Linked DNA regions of Homo sapiens: regions 1 and 2 are each linked to region 3. Evidence: promoter capture Hi-C in human tissues and cell types (Jung and others, 2019). All regions are on one chromosome and are shown on one strand. The core of a region is centred on a gene start or on the middle of the fragment in contact, and the rest is flanking DNA. Distances in the headings are between cores, read along the strand shown.

Region 1 (3,423 bases), core at 854-3,353, 160 kb before region 3:
TCTTGTTTTTAAAACCATCAGATCTCATGAGACTCGTTCACTATCATGAGAACAACACAGAAAAGACCCACCCCCATAATTCTATCACCTCCCACCAGGTCCCTCCCATGACACATGAGAATTGTGGGAGTTACAATTTAAGATGAGATTTGGGTGGGGACACAGCCAAACCATATCAGAAGGCTAATAGGGAAGGAAGAGTGAATGATGACATCAAGGTTTCTATTTTGACTGAGTAGTGATGTGATTAGGAAATACTGGTAGTAGAACAAGTTTTAGTAGGGAATATAATGAATTCAGTTGGGGAATATGTAGATGTGATATAGAGCAATCTAGATGTCTGTTAAGTTGATATTCAGAAAAGAGTTATAAGGACACAAGACATAGATTTGGGAGTCATAAGCATATGGGTAATAGTTGAAGCTAAAAGTCTTCATGAAGTTAGCCAGGCCAAAAAACTAGTAAGTGAGAGGCATTCAAAAGAAGAGGGCTGAAGATGGAGCCCTGAAATGAACTATAGACCGCAAGAGTTGGAAAATTGCCCTCAAAATTATGGTAATAACAAAAAGAAGAAGGCATGCAGAAGAAACAGTTACAGGAAAAAAAACAATGTTTGACTTCTCTGCCTTTTGGCTAAGATAAAGTGAAAAAGATAATGTCAGATGTCTCACATAGTTGAAGAGAACTAAATACAAATGGAGTTGGTCATTAGGAAATTGCTTTTGATCATAGCAGCTTTAGCAGGATGTTGGAATACATTGGATTGCAAAGTTGGAGGAGTGAATTCATTGTGGTTGAAAAAGTGCAAATGACAAGATGCTTGGTGGTACAGAGAAGCAGAGAGAATGGTAATGGTAAAGGAGAGGTAGAATCCGTCAAAGGAATTTTTTAGTTTGGGAAACTTAAGAATAGTTATGCAGAGGGGGTCGATTAAGAATAGTAGGAGAAAGAACAATGACGAGTGAAAGCAGATTTTATGCTTACCACATCAGGACACGCCTCAGTTTGCTAAAAGAGTTGTTGAGCCTGCTATGAATCCATGCTGGTAGGCCATAGCTGCAAATTACCTAGTTAGTACTTAACTCTACTTTTATATTCCTAACAGGTTAAGGAATGATATTAGTGTTTTATCGTTCTCATGTATTTGTGATGTAATTATTTCTGGTGATTACGTTTATTTCAACAGGTGTTTCTTATGGACAAAGCAGTAGTGACGTTGAAGCCCTACATCAAGCTTATTGTCATATAGCCCATTCATTGGGAGATGAAGACAAACAAAAAATTGAGAGTAACACAGTGGAAGATATCAAGAGCTCAGTGAAAGGTCATCCTCAAGAAAATGAAGAGAATTCAAAAAACATCTCTACTATGGAATCTGGTAAAAACTTACAGATGAATTTTTCAATTATTTGATATCCTTTCTAAAGAGTTTTTAGTGTAATATAATTAAAATACAATTTGCTGTAGTGATTGTTTCTCAGTCTCTGAGCTTAATTAAAGAAATTTTTTCAGCCAGGCGAGGTGGCTGATGCCTGTAATCCCAGCACTTTGGGAGGCCGAGGTGGGTGGATCACGAGGTCAAGAGATTGAGACCATCCTGGGCAACATGGTGAAACCCCATCTCTACTAAAAATACAAAAATTAGCTGGGCATGGTGGCACACGCCTATAGTCCCAGCTACTCGGGAGCCTGAGGCAGGAGAATCACTTGAACACGGGAGACGAAGGTTGCAGTGAGCCAATATTGCGCCACTGCTCCTCCAGCCTGGCAACAGAGTGAGACTCTGCCTTAAAAAAAAAAAAAAAAGATTTTTTCAAATGAAATACAGGAACCCTTGGTTTAACTATAAAATTAGAGCCAAACACAAAACGAAATTTCACTTTCTTTTCTTTTCTTTTTTTTTTTTTGAGACGGAGTCTTGCTCTGTCGCCCAGGCTGGAGTGCAATGGCACGATCTCGGCTCACAGCAGCCTCCGCCACCCTGGTTCAAGCAATTCTCTTGCCTCAGCCTCCTGCATAGCTGGGATTACAGGTGCCTGCTGCCATGCCCAGCTAATTTTTGTCTTTTTAGTAGAGATGGGGTTTTGGCATGTTGGTCAGGCTGCTCTCGAACTCCTGACCTCAGGTGATCCACCTGCCTTGGCCTCCCAAAGTGCTGAGATTACAGGCATGAGCCACTGCGCCTGGCCCAGTTTCTTTTCTAATATGCCTTGATCAAATTAAGAAGTCATTTAAAGGGATATTTTTTACTCTTTTGTATGTACGTATATTAAAGTTGTATTTTGTTAGACAACAGTATTTCAGGATCAACCAAATATGTACTTAGCGTGTGTGTATGTATAGATATTTTTTGATAAATATATTTGATATTGATATTTGAGATATTTATTTGATATTTCATAAGAAAGGAAGTTTTCCTGGTATAAGGAAACTTAAGACGGAAAACTAGGTTTATTGCATGTACCGTTTTATTAACTGTGTCAGAGAAAATATAATTTTGGTGTTATTACACATGTAAATTAAGCAACCTACATAACATTTTTCGTTTCTACTTTTTTTTCCACCTCTTAGATCTGCCCACAGTAGAGGAGCTGATGAAACCTATCAGAATAGATTCCTTTGGGATCAGTGGTTTTGATTTACAACCTGTCAGGTATGAATTTTTTATTTATTGTTTTGTCATTGGAAACTTTTATAGTCATTTGTTCTATGTAATCATTCCTAGTGAATGATTAATGACTAATACTAGCTTGACTCTACCTGTGAGTCATAACTCTCTTCTTTTTATATTTGTCCTTACTCAAGTCATCAAAATTCTAGGGCTAAATGAAAAAATAAATAGATGCTATAAAAAAACTGGGGCCACTAAATAGTCCTAAAGGTTTTCACTGAAAAATACAGTCTCCTCAGCTTTAAATAGTGCCGGAACAGTTCATTCATGATGAGGGAGAAAGTGAATTTTATTATGTTTATGAGTCATAGATTTCCTTCTTTATAAACCAGTTAGTTTTGACTTAGTCACAGACTGGCTGTCATCTCACAGGGTGAGTTTGTAGCCACAAGAGAAATGGTCCTCATTAAAATGCTTCAGGTCCAATACAGTTTAGTGGAAGTATGTGTGACCCACTGTCATTCTTCAACACGGAGTAACATGTCACAGTAACCTTGTAATAGACAGCGTTGCTTTTATGTAGCACTGAAATGTCATGTCCAGTCTCCCACGTGATCCTCATAACAAGTAGAGAATGCATCTTTATGCCCATAATTCAAGAAATGCACCTGAGATTAACTCAATTTACTGGTAGATGATAACAGCTAACATTTTTCACATTTACTTTGGGCACATACTATACGTATATTATTTAATTTAACCTTACAGCATCTCCATGGGTTATACTCCATTATTATCCCTATTTCATAGAC
Region 2 (3,708 bases), core at 136-2,635, 170 kb after region 3:
CCAAATTCATAGGTTGAAGTCCTAACCATCAGTAGCTCAGAATATGACCTTATTTGGATATAGGGTTGTTACAGATGCAAAATTAAATGAGGTCATACTGGAGTAGGGGAGGTCCCTAATCGAGTATGATTAGGGTCCATATAAAAACAGAAAATCTGACCACAGACAAGCACATAGGGAATATGCCACGTGAAGATGAAGTCAGATATTAGGGTAATGTTCTATAAGCCAAGGAACTCCAAAGATTGCCAGCAAACCACCAGAAGCTAGGTGAGAGGCATGGAACAAATTGTTACTCAGTCATCAGAAGGAACGAACCCTGCTGACACCCTAATCACAGACTTCTAGCCATCAAAACTATGAGACAAATTTCTGTTGTTTAAGCCATCTAGTTTGTGGTCCTTTGTTACGGCATCCATAGGAAATTAATACAGCATTTATTGGTGTTGATATCACCAATCCACTGTGAAAACCACCAGATACCTCTTTAAGTGACCATACTTCTTAAAAGTAAGTGTTACACTCATTGAACAAATACAAGTCAATGGCCTCTATGTGCCAGCCACTCAGGACAGAGCAGTAAGACCAACAATGTCCCTGCCCTCATATAGGTTATAGTGCAGTCAGGATAACTGACAACAAACCAAAATTATACAATGATAAAATTACAATTGCATTAAGAACAAAAATGATATATTTCCCTTCCTCTCTAAACAGATGGTAAACACAGTTAACCATGCATGGAGCCTCATGGTATAGTTGGATGCCTTTCATTTTTATTTTTGTTCCCCTACTAGATATCAGGTTGTTGGCTACCACAAAGTCAGCTTTTATCAGCTACCTTCTTGTCTGCCTGCTCACCTCCTCCAATACATTTATATTTAATTTGGAGTTTCTAATGCACTCTGAGCTAAACAAAATCAAGTAACTAATATTGCTAAGAAACATATACCATGTAATGAAAATTGCTGCAAGTGAAAACTGAAGATTTGGCTTTAATGCAGGACTTTCAGGTTTACTTTAGATTCTCAGAGATTTTTTTTTTCCAACAGAATTCTGTTATAAGGCTCTGAGACAGAAAGTTATTGCTATATAAACTGGATTTTACCAAATAATTTTGTACTATATTGCCTGGCAAATGCTTGTTTCCTTTCAAAGGAAATGCAGTACAAGGAAGCAAGAAAAACTTTTTCGTATCAGAAGTTCACTGTTTTCTGCATCAGAATATAATGGTTACCTAAGGAAGAAATACTATCCAAAGTCAGAATTATATAAGTTATTGTCAAGCACAAGGCATATTTTTGTTAAATTGTCAATTGTTTAAAATAACATGACTGTGAGGTTATGTAACATCATAATTGGAAAGTTCAGGCAACATTTTTTGAAGGACTTAATAAATACCACCTACCTCTTATGCATATCCAACAATCATCTTTTTTGTTGTGTTTCTTAAGTTCTTCTTCAGTTACTTCAATTAACCTGCCTTTTAATCCCGTTAGATCCTTTCCACTTTTGGTCAGTCGAATCCAATCCATAAGGCTTCTGCCCTGTTTTAAAGGTACCTAAAAATGGAAAAAGGAAGAATTAAATCTAGCTTCATTACTTTTAATTCCATTTTAAAAGATAATAAAACTCAAATCTAACACTTCTATAAATCCTTTTACAGTTTTAAGAGGCTGTCAACATTGTTTATGCTGTATTTGAATTATAAAAGGTAGGGCTTAGAAATTCTACCACACAAATTTTCACCATATTGATGTCACAGTACAGTAGTCTATCAGTATTCCTGGGGGACTGGTCCTAGGACTTCCCCCTACCCTATACCAAAATCCAGGATGCTCAAGTGTCTCATATAAAATGGCAAAGTACTGACATATAACCTATGAACATTCTCACATATACTTTAAATAATCTCTAGATTACTAATAATACCTAAAGCAATGTAAATGCTATGTAAATGGTTGTTGTATTGCATTGTTTTATAATTCTTATTTTTTTATTGTTGTATTGTTATTTTTAATTTTTTTCCCCAAATATTTTTGATCTAAAGTTGGTTGAATCCTTGGACGCGGAACCCAGGGCTACACAGGGCTGACCATATAACAGGAATGGTATTGAACCAGAAACTAGAAAAGAGGTTCTGGTCCTGGCTCTGACATTAATATGTTACAGTTAACCAGTTTGGACCAAAATTTCTTCACCTTAAAAATCAAAGAGATTTGACAGAAGAAAAGGTAAAGAGACAATTAACTATAGTTGATTTTCTGGACTGTCAAGATAAACAGACTATTAGAAATCATTAGATAGCAATCTTATCTAAGAATCCATTGAGTAACAAAGTTTATCAAATAATGGAAAATAAAACTTGTAACACTGTAGGGAAGGGGTGGCAAACTATGGCCTGTACCTGTTTCTATACAGCCCTTGAGCAAAGAATCGTCTTCACATGTGGTGGTAAAGAGCCTGAAACCTTATGAGGCTCTCAAAGCCGAAAACACCACCTGGCCCTTTGCAGAAAAAAAACTGCCAACCCTTGCCTAGGGAACTTAGTAACAGGATGGTTTGGGTTTTTATTTTGTTTTGTTTTATAAAACACATTTTCAAAGTTTTCAGACGAGAAGTATTATTAGTACTTTGACCAGAACATTTTCAAGATATCTCTATGGAACTAAGCTTGTCTGACTAATTTGTAACGTAGTAACAGAAGAATGTTTAATGTAAAAGCAGACACATTCAAGGATGTTTACATATCTCACTTTCCTGAATCATATCTATTTTAGACATCCATTTACTCCCAAAGTAACCAAGTTAATAGGTCTGTGGTGCCTTTCACATTCTATCCTATCAATCTACATCATTCCATTCTGGCTATCACTGAAACTCTAGGTCTCTTGATCCCAATAAATGAAGTGTGAGAAAATGACCTTTCCCATCCCAAACTAAAATCACTCACCTCTCTCCATTCCATAATCCACAGGATAGTTAAAGCAATCTTTCAGAAATGCAAATCTAATCACAGGCTCTCCCTCCTTCAGTGGCTCCTCAGGTCACCTTACAACAACGTCTCTAAATTCCCTAGGGATTTACCAGGTCTTCACAATCTGGTCACAGTTGACTGTACTAGCTCCATGTTCTAACTTTTGCTCCTTTCCATTATATACTTTAGCCAAATGGGAACTGATTATTTGATTCCTTTATTGCTGTCAAGTACTTGCTTATAGTAGTGTTGCTTTCCCTGCATGGATCAACCTCACTCCAACTCCCATTAATTCCTCTGGAAGGCTTCTCTGATCCTCAACTCCTTAGTGGTCATACCACCCTGTTGTAGTACTTATGACTTTATAACTGAATGTTCACTATTTCATGCAACCTATGAGACTAAACACCTTGAAATCAGAGACCAAAAACTCCAGCATATGGTAGGTTCTCAATAAGTATTTGTTTACCAGTATTAATAGAAATAATAACTATCATATGTTGAGTGCATATTCTGTGTCACACTCAAGTCTGTGAGATCTGAATAAAAGCCTCAGGACAAGTAGCATTTACTGGGTGCTTACCAAGGCTGTGCTAAGAGAAACATTATCTCATTGAATCCTATGAACAATCCTATAAAATGGGTACTGTTATTCTCATTTACATCTGAGGAAACAGACTCAAAGAGATTAACTGGCAGATATGGTGAAAGAATCTAGGTCTTTCTCACTT
Region 3 (3,840 bases), core at 527-3,026:
TCTTTCTCTTGGCTTTCATGTTTTAAAAACTGCTATTTGCAACTCACTAAACTGATCATTAGCCTAATGAGTCACAGCCCACATTTGAAGACAATGGATACAGCATACCCTGATCTATATCCCAGTAGATTGCTAGAAAAGGGAAGGGAGTTGGTTTGGCGTAAGTATTTGTAAATGCTTCCCTAGGTAGTTTTGAGCTATCTTAAAGAATTTGTTCTAGAATGTTGCCAGGATTCAATGTTTCCCTCTTTTAAAAAGTCTCCTGGGTCCATTCTCATCTCTCATACCTGCACAAAGATGACTGTAACCGCTTTCACTACTCTAGGACGTCTGCCATTTGGGTTTTGAACAATCCAGTCCAGTTTCGGGCTTCGAGACCCTCTTTAAAGGGTTTAGGCTGGCCTCACTTTGAAAAGAAAGATACAGACTGGAAGCAACTCTTCCTTTTCCTATCACCTGTTAATATTATCTATTCTTCCATAAACACTGGATGATCTTCCTCATAAGAACGAAACTCCTTGTGGGTACCCCAGCTCACAGTGGCCTCTGGCTTTCCTGACCTTATCCTTGCAGGCCCTCGTCACTCTCCTGCACCTGTTCTTGTCTGTGTACCCCATGCAATGTACCTAAAGGAAACTAGACTCACAGTCCTAGCTTCCAGACCCCTACTCCCCACTATTACTTAACTGGGGCAGTCACCTTGGAAAACGTATTTAATATCGCAATCTAATTTTCTCTACCTGCAAACTGAAAATACTACTGTTTACTTTTGGGGTTTTCGTAAGAATTAATTTATGCATAAGAGTTCCCTTCTCTCGTCTCCCTGGACACATTCCCTCAAGCTTCCTTTGCCTTCAAAACACCAGAGTGTTTCACTGTTGTCAAACTAAATGCAGAGTAGTGGCTGAGATTCTGTGCCATCTAACATGCTGTGGAAACCACAACGCCTCCAAACAGGTTTCTGCAGAGACTACTCTTTGCCTTCCTCAATTAATTACACAGAAAGGATGGGAAAGGCACGGGGCACGGGGCGCGGGGCGGGCGGGGGGAGCGGGGGCGGGTTGCGGGGTGGGGCGGCGGGGAAAGTGTAAAACCCCTATTTCCCTCTAATCAGTAACACGACCTGCGAGCAGGCTCCCCAGTCCAAACAAAATGAATGAGCAACTGTCAAGCCAGGCATCATCTGAGAACCCTGCCCAGTGCATGGAGGCGCGCCCGGGGCCAGGAGCCAGCACATTTCCCCAGCCCAGGGGGGCTCTCTCAGTTGCAGGGCACCAAGGCGGCAGGAGGGCCGCAGCAAGGAAAGTTTTCTCACCAGCGGGAAAGGGTGTGCCTCGGCCGCTGGGGCCCAGCGGAGGGGAGGAAGCCCACCCAAGCCCCGAGCGCCGCCGCTTCCAGGCTTTTCGGACGCCCAGCGGCGTCCACACGCACATCAGCGGGCTGCCGGGAAGGTTTTAAACTTGGTGCTCTCCACGGGGTCCACACTCTTCCCGTGGGCGTCCTCACACCCCAATTCTCCTCCTCCCACCCCATTCTCTAGCCCCTCTAAACTAAAGACTGCCCCCAAACCCAAGCAAGCCCTGCCTTGACCAAAGCTGCACGCGCCCCGCACCCAGCGCCCGGGCTTTGCTCCGCCCTGGGCGCCCTGTCCCGCCCGTGGTTACCGGCTGGCTAGCCCCGGCCCGCGGGCTCGGCCCTGGTTCCGGCTCCTGGCTCCTCCGAGGTGCGCGAGCGCCGCCGCCGCCGCCGCCTCCCACCGCCCAGGGCCGGGCGAGTAGCTCCTAGATCCGAGGTGCGGCGGAGACGCGCGCTCCCGACCCGCAGCGGAGGCGGCGCGGGGCGCCGGAGCAGGGCTGCAGCGCGGGAGCCGCCTCCCCAGCGCGAGAGCCGCCTCCCCAGCGCGAGGCCGCCTTGGCCAAGAGGAGGTGAGCTTTGCAGATCCCTTTCCTGCTCACTTTGCCCCTCCGAGTCCGGGTCAGAGCCTGAGTCAGAGAATTCTTTGCCATCCCGGGCTCTGCAGTGGGTCCCTCGGGTCAACTTTGGGTAACAGGAGGAGCTCATTAGCTGAGCAAGAGGGAGTGGGGTATCATGAATCAAGGCTTATGAAAAATCGGCAGCATTGAGTTCAAGTTCAGTAAGGCCAGAGCCCCCCCATAATGTGCTGCTTAAATTACTACCTCGATTTTAGTTTCTCTTCCTGCCCACTGGTCCAGGTGTCAAAGGGCAGTCAGACGTTCAAACGGGGTCCCAAAGGGCTAGCACTGGGCCGGGAGTAGTTTCAGCATAGCAGGGCTGGCTCATCTCTTCCTCCCTTGAGTCCTTATTGCATGCCAGGCATTGATCTGGGAATACAGGTGCTTGGTGCTTGCATTCTACTAAAGAGACAGGCATAAACATAACAAATAACTAAAATACATAGTATGTGAGATAGTGATGAAGTGCGGTGGACAAAAAAGAAGGGAGGAAATGGGATAATGTTTGGAGGTAGGGGGTGCATTTTTAAATGGGATGGTCAAAGATGGCTTCACAGTGGAGTAAAGATCTAAAGGAGATGAGACAGAAAGAAGTCACGCTGGTATCTGGAGAGAAAGCACTTGCTGTGTGGCAGGCACTGAGATGTTCTTTACTGCACTAGTCATTTCTTTTACTACTCTCCATATGCCATATTAGACAGGTATTGCCACCATTTCCATTTTACTGATGAGAAACTGTAACTTAGGAAGGTTAAAGGAACTGCCCAAGGTCATATGCTAGTCAATAGAGGAGCTTGCCTTCAAGGTCAGGAAGCCTGGTGCCCCAGAACCATAGTTTAACCACCATTATACAGCAGCAGGGGAAATGCAGCACCCATGCAGGCTGGTGGCAGTGTGATGAACTCAAGCTGGTGGTGCCAAAAGAGGATTCCTGGAAATGACATCTCATCACTGATTTTTTTTTAAAAGCTCAGTTTCATTACCACTTGTAAAATGAAATATTTTGAACACCATTTTTCTTCTTCTTCTTTTTTTTAATTTTAAGTTCTGGGATACATGTGCAGAATGTACAGATTTGTTACATAGGTATACATGTGCCAGCGTGGTTTGCTGCATTTATCAACTTGTCATCTAGGTTTTAAGCCCCGCTTGCATTAGGTATTTGTCCTAATGCTCTTCCTCTCCTTGCCGCCCACCCCCGACAGGCCCCGGTGTATGATGTTCCCCTCCCTGTGTCCATGTGTTCTCACTGTTCAACTCCCACTTATGAGTGAGAACATGCTCATTTGGTTTTCTGTTCCTGTGTTAGTTTGCTGAGAATGGTGGTTTCCAGCTTCATCCATGTCCCTGCAAAGGACACAAACTCATCCTTTTTTATGGCTGCATAGTATTCTATGGTGTATGTGTGCCACATTTTCTTTATCCATTCTATCATTGATGGGCATTTGGAGTGAACAGGCAACCTACAGAATGGGAGAAAATTTTTGCAATCTATCCATCTGACAAAGGTCTAATATCCAGAATGTACAAGCAACTTAAACAAATTTACAAGAAGAAAACAACCCCATCAAAAAGTGGGCAAAGGATATGAACAGATACTTCTCAAAAGAAGACATTTATGCAGCCAACAAACATATGGAAAAAAGCTCATCATCACTGGTCATTAGAGAAAACCATCTTTATAGTGTGTGTATGTATCTTCTGCCTCATCCACAAGCAGTTTGATTCTAAATAACATAATTTGACAATCTGTGATAAGATTTATTAATCATTCCCCAAGTGTCCACACCAGTTCCAGTTGCTCATTCCTATTCACAGGGATGTGATTCCTCACCCCTGCAGTAGAGCCTCTGCCAAGTGTCTTCAG

What was found. Contacts are between HindIII fragments. The study calls those that stand out against the background at their distance.
Region 1: a contact is called between a fragment that was not itself captured here and the fragment with the promoter of MRAP2 in region 3, in 1 of the 25 tissues and cell types used here (H1 embryonic stem cells).
Region 2: a contact is called between a fragment that was not itself captured here and the fragment with the promoter of MRAP2 in region 3, in 1 of the 25 tissues and cell types used here (hippocampus).

The regions. Positions count from the first base shown.
Region 1 is chr6:84,192,839-84,196,261 of GRCh38, reverse strand. CEP162 (centrosomal protein 162) reads left to right here. Exons shown (of 27, transcript NM_014895.4): 10 at 1,187-1,378; 11 at 2,572-2,653. Among named protein-coding and RNA genes, the nearest start is that of CEP162, 33 kb to the left of the region's middle. The HindIII fragment of the contact is 5,582 bases long and covers 1-3,423 here.
Region 2 is chr6:83,862,029-83,865,736 of GRCh38, reverse strand. RIPPLY2-CYB5R4 (RIPPLY2-CYB5R4 readthrough) reads right to left here. Exons shown (of 18, transcript NR_174604.1): 4 at 1,409-1,562. It overlaps CYB5R4 (cytochrome b5 reductase 4), which reads right to left. Exons shown (of 16, transcript NM_016230.4): 2 at 1,409-1,562. Among named protein-coding and RNA genes, the nearest start is that of CYB5R4, 4.2 kb to the right of the region's middle. The HindIII fragment of the contact is 4,744 bases long and covers 1-3,708 here.
Region 3 is chr6:84,031,708-84,035,547 of GRCh38, reverse strand. MRAP2 (melanocortin 2 receptor accessory protein 2) reads right to left here and starts at 1,776. Exons shown (of 4, transcript NM_138409.4): 1 at 1,665-1,776. The HindIII fragment of the contact is 8,786 bases long and covers 1-3,840 here.